Linked DNA regions of Homo sapiens: region 1 is linked to region 2. Evidence: promoter capture Hi-C in human tissues and cell types (Jung and others, 2019). All regions are on one chromosome and are shown on one strand. Each heading gives the region's core, a stretch centred on a gene start or on the middle of the fragment in contact. The rest is flanking DNA. Distances are from core to core; before and after follow the strand shown.

Region 1 (2,735 bases), core at 123-2,622, 260 kb before region 2:
CAGGCAGACACAGCTACCCAGGCTTGGGCATCTGGCTGACCATATTCTCCAAAACGAATAGAACAAATCTGTCACTTCCAGGCAAACAACTGATGGTACTCGTTGCCAATGACAACATTTGTGCTTTCAAGAAAAACCAGAATTCTGGAAAACTTTTATGAACTACTGTGAGCTTAGCAGCTTTTCCTTACTCCAAGGCTTTTCTGATGAGGCCCCTGGAGATGTTAAGGAAGGTAGGGGTTTGGGGGTTGGGTTTTTAACAGTGGTATATCAGCACTTGGGAGGTGCTGCATGGCTCAGTAAGCTAATATACTCCAAATGGTCTGCTATGGTCTGAATGCTTGTGTCCCCTCCAAAACTCATGCTGAAATCCTAACCCTCAAAGTGACGGTGTTTGGAAGAGAGGCCTTTGGAAGGTGATGAGGTCATGAAGGTGAAGCTGTCATGAATGGGAAAGAGAGATCCCTTGCCCCATCTACCATGTGCAGACACAGCAAGATGCTATGAGCCAGGAAGCGGCCCTCTTCATCAGAAACTCAACTTGATCTGGACCTCCCTGCCTGACTTGATCTGGACCTCCCTGACTTGATCTGGACCTCCCTGCCTCCAGAACTATGAGACATAAATGCTTGTTGGTTACAAGCCAACCCAGTTTATAGTATTTTCTTATAGCAGCCCAAATGGACTAAGACATGACTAACACAAGATATTACGAAATCCATTCAGTGCTTTAGGCAGACCAGTGGATTTCAGTGTAAAGGTAGAAAAAGTTTATTGGTACACTTCAGAAGCCACATTGTAACTAACCTTTTTAAAAAAAAAAAACTGCCTCTTGGAGTTTTCCTATATAGAGTCAAAGAATTATCTCAATGGTCTGGAAAGCCTATGAGAATATTCCTCTCTTTTCCATCTACAACTTTGTGATGTAGCCTTTCACCATCAGGCAGAGAAACACTTTACTCAAAACAGTGTACTGCAACAGAGTAAGTGCAGAAGCAGGCAAGGGGACCAGATTGCCTCTGCTGAACTAGACATCAAAGAGGTCAAAAGTGATGTGACACTACTTTTCTTAGTATTTTGTTTTGGAAATATAGTTATTTTTTATTTAAAAAGTCAGTTATGTTACATGTAAAAGGTTTATTATTGTTGCTTTAAAATGAATATTTTAAAATCTTTTCTAATTAAAATTTCTAATACAGTAAATATAAATAGATATAACAAAAATAAAAGCTTTCTGAGGTCTTCAGTATACTTTTCAGTTCTAAAATTTCCATTTGGTTCTTCTTTATATCGCCTATTTCCTTGTTGAGACTTTAAATGTTTTCATTTGTTTCAAGCATGTTCTAAATTGCTTGCTGAATCAAGAGGGCTGTTTAAAACTCTTGTCACATAATTCCAACATTTGTACAATCTCAGCCTTGGTGTCTTCTGCTGAATGTTTTTTCTCATTTGAAATCTCTGAAAGTTGAGATTTTCCTGGTAATCAGTGTCGATTAGATCCCGGACATTTGAGGCACTACCTGACGAGACTATGGACTTTATTTATCTTGTTTAGCAGGCCTCACCATGCAAGCAGAGAAACAGGTGCATCCCCTTAGCCACTGAGTCGGGGAGGTCTAGGTCCCCTGCTTAGCCTCTGACATCCACCTGGTGGGGAGGGGGACTAGCTCCTCATTACTGCTAGCCCAGGGTGGAGGTCCTGGGCCACCCCCAGTCCGCACCACTTTGCAGATGGGGTGGGACGGACCTGCTGACTTCTTTGCGCCTGGCACTGGAGTGAGGCAGTGACGGTCAGAGTTCTGTCTTGCTGGATTGGACTGTCTTCCCAGCCTCCTGGTTTCCTTGGGGCTTTTTGTCTCTGCCTGATGGTGAAAGGCTTCAGGTTTCTAACGCGCCCAGTCCAGGACAGACAGGAGACAAAAAGGAAACCTGGAGACTCCCTACACGTGACTCTGAGCCCCATCCCCCTCTTCTCTCCACCTCCCATAGCCATGCCGGCCTGACAACTCCCAGGGTTTTAACTGTTTCTAGCAGGCACAATAGGGTGAAATCCATTGCATCCTGACTGGAACTGAAGTCAACAATCATTTCTAAAACTGTAAAGGGGTCGTCCTAAAACCAAAAGGTTGACAAATGCTGCTCCATAATGGGGACTTCCGTGGGTCCCCATGGGGACGTCGCCTCCATAAAACCCAGGATCTCCCTTCACCCCAGGGAAGCCCCCTCCTACTGCCCAAATCTATATGAAGCTGAATTCTTTTTGGTGGGGGAGCAGGCCACATCTTAAAGGTAGAAGAGATGCAGAATAAGCTCATTTGTTGTTGTTCCACTCACTTCATAAAAATAACACATACCATAAATGGTTAACCACAAAATGGAACCTCTCCCTCTATATGAACAGTGTGGAAATCTGAGCAAATGTTTATATAAATCTGTTGGTGTTAACCCAGAAAGAATAGTCAATATCTTTCTTTTGCTCCCTATACCAGACACATCTCAACTCCAATTTGCTCCTCAAAACTTCTGGGAAGAATGACATGAAATTAAACAACAGATAGTCACCAAGTTTTAGTTTTAAAATAATAATGACAGCAAATTAAACTTACATTATTGGCAAACACTCGAAGGTCAAGCGCTACTGCATACATGACAGGCAGAGCCCTGCAGGGCAAAAAAGTAAACAAGTGTGAGGGGCTACGTGGGCCAAGATTCCATCCCCAGAGGTGGGAAGAACA
Region 2 (2,832 bases), core at 84-2,583:
GCGGGGCACAAGCATGGGGTTGCTGGTCCTAAGGGCACACGAGTGGCCGCCTGGAAAACCAGAAGCAGGAGCTCCTGGACGCCAAGGCTGTGAACAGTCGGACGCCTCCCCGTCTCCAGCAAGCCGGGAGCCTTATCTTATCGCCGGCGCTTCAGCTCTCCCGTTATTTAGGGACCGGCCACAGGCTCGATGGCATTCCTCTGCTGTGAGCACAGAACTAAACTGGGCACGTCCATGGCAGATGAACAGAATGGTGGAGTGAACGCATAAGTGAGATTTCATTGACTTAGCTGCAGCCCTCAGATTTTAATTCTGCCATGATAAACAGCACCCACGGGGTTTTGAAGAGCAAATGCCTCGTAGGAAAGCTGGACTGCATGTCTGTGCACCTGCCATTTCCCTGAAATTCATGCAAAAGCTTGATCCTAAAATCAATTTGCTACTTAAAGGTATTTTAAGAAGCTTTGTCTCCAATCTCGTCCAATCAAGTTTATGTCATTTTCTTAGAACACATTTGTGTATGGGCAACTCTCCAAGCTGAACCATTTTGGGAGATGATATTCTAACTTTAATTCATTGGAATTTAGAACTAATCCCCAAACAGTATTAATGGGTTCACATTTCAAACTGGCTTATTTTACATCCCTTTGTAATGAATTCAGAACAAGAAGGCTTAATCTCTGCAGCGAGAAGTGAGCCCTCACCCTACTCCCACCAGCACGGCCGAGAGAGGCTTCACTGGCTTTAACTCTATTAGAAACAGAAGGTGCTAGGCCTAGTTAACGCTTTACAAATACAAGTGAAAAGTCACGTTTAAAAACTGAATCTTAATAACTGCAAAGTAAAGTAATACTGTCACCCTCAGAGAAACCACAGGAGAAACGTGATCTGCCGCATATCAAATTTGAGGGACACTCAGATTAAATTGCCACTTTTAGCAGCGGTATCAGGTAACACCATCCGCTGAAGGACCGCACTGCCTTCAAAGCTCTCGGAGGCTTACTGGGAGAACTCGAGCAGCCAGTGTTCCCTCCAGCCCGCACACCGGAGCGCGGTGGGCCCAGCCTACCTGTGGTGAGGGCCTCGGCGGTTGCGATGTGCATGATGGTGTTGTCACTCACGGGCCATTCTCCTGGCGAGAGTACGAGGTGGTCCAGGCCCCCGGAACGTTGCAGCTCCTCCTGGATCTTCATGCCTACAGTGCTGTTCTCCTTGCAGACATTTCTGTAGCCAAGAGCATCGCCGACGCTCCCCAGCAACATCGCAGCCTTAAATTTCTCCATCCCAGGAGGCAGCTCCTCTTCCCCAACAGCTGCGGAGCGTCCTGGCCTTTGTCTCCTCCTCAGCCCGCCTGACTTTTATAGTGGTCACTGTGTCACTGTCAGGAGCGTCCTCTGATGGCCAGGCGCTCCTTGTCTATCTCTGCAGGTGGCACCAATGAGAGGACCTTTCTGTCCCCCACGTGGGAGGTGTCAGTTTTCTTCTGCGTCTGGACAGGCACCAGCTCCTCAGCAGAGGAGCCTGCTAGCTTCTGCCGGCAGCCGCAGCACATTCAGAGCGTTGACAGAGCAGGGGCTCCTCTCGCTGTCCCTGGAAGGAGTGCGCACACTTCCCCGTGTGTGGCGTGGGGTGATGCGGGAGCAGATGTGTGCAGGCGTGCCTGTCACTGCCGCCCGCTGCGGGGCGTGCCCTCACCCCTCGGGCAACAACCCATCTGCTGTCTCTACAGTTCTGCCTTTCCTGGACATTTCAAATACAATGTGTGGCCTTCGGTGTCTGGCTTCCTTCACTCAACATAATGTTGAGATTAATCTGTGACATGCGGTTTTATCATTTAGAAAACTTTTCGATTATGAAATGTGTTTTTGATAGAAAACTTTTAAAAAATGCAGTGTAGAGGGAACAAAGTCTATCTAGCTCCTGTGTGAACAATGACGGTGTCTTCTCAGCATGCGGTGTTTAACGGCTCCCAAATAATTGGACTGCACTGAGGGGGAAAGTCGTCAGCAAACCGCAGGCTTCACTAGAACCTCCCATCCGGCCCTCGGTCAGCTCAGTGTATTTACATCATCCCTGCTAGCTCATGAAAAGAATATTAAAAAATATGGAGACGGGGGGTGAGGCAGAATGCACACAGCCAGGGTTCCTGGTTTGAAATAAATTAGGAAAACAGTCCATCTCCCGACCCCACCCCAGGACAGTTCTCCGCAGAGGCCGGGAGCCCAGCAGGGCTGTGTCTCTCCCGTCTCCTTCCTCGGGGCCTGGTTTCCATCAGACCCAGGGGAAGCAAAGAGTTACACCTGGACTGAAGAAATGCGTCTGATAAAAACTCTCGTAGTGTACAGCGAGACAGTAGGAAGCATTTAACCGCCTGGCGTTATATCAGCACTTGTTAAAACGGAGGATCTCAAGCAGTGAGTTCACCTCACCCTCCACTGTCTGCTGGTGGAGGCAGCCATCAGCACAGTCATGCCAGCTAGCATGATCCTGAGATTCAGAAACAAACTTCAAAACCAGCATGCAGGCCGGGCGCGGTGGCTCATGGCTGTAATCCCAGCACTTTGGGAGGCCGAGGCGGGCGGATCCCCTGAGCTCAGGATTTTGAGGCCAGCCTGACCAATATGATGAAACCCCGTCTCTACTAAAAATACAAAAATTAGCCGGGCATGGTGGTGGGCACCTGTAATCCCAGCTACTTGGGAGGCTGAGATAGGAGGATCACTTGAACCTAGGAGGCAGAGGTTGCAGTGAGCCGAGATCACGCCATTGCACTCCAGCCTGGGCAACAAGAGCAAAACTCTGTCTCAGAAACAAACAAACAAACAAACAAAA

What was found. Contacts are between HindIII fragments. The study calls those that stand out against the background at their distance.
Region 1: a contact is called between a fragment that was not itself captured here and the fragment with the promoter of ADPRHL1 in region 2, in 1 of the 25 tissues and cell types used here (dorsolateral prefrontal cortex).

What each region holds. Positions count from the first base shown.
Region 1 is chr13:113,192,465-113,195,199 of GRCh38, forward strand. It overlaps PCID2 (PCI domain containing 2), which reads right to left. Exons shown (of 14, transcript NM_001127202.4): 6 at 2,607-2,661. Among named protein-coding and RNA genes, the nearest start is that of PCID2, 15 kb to the right of the region's middle. The HindIII fragment of the contact is 3,442 bases long and covers 1-2,735 here.
Region 2 is chr13:113,452,155-113,454,986 of GRCh38, forward strand. It overlaps ADPRHL1 (ADP-ribosylhydrolase like 1), which reads right to left and starts at 1,334. Exons shown (of 8, transcript NM_001394807.1): 1 at 1,070-1,334. The coding sequence starts at 1,283. The HindIII fragment of the contact is 9,965 bases long and covers 1-2,832 here.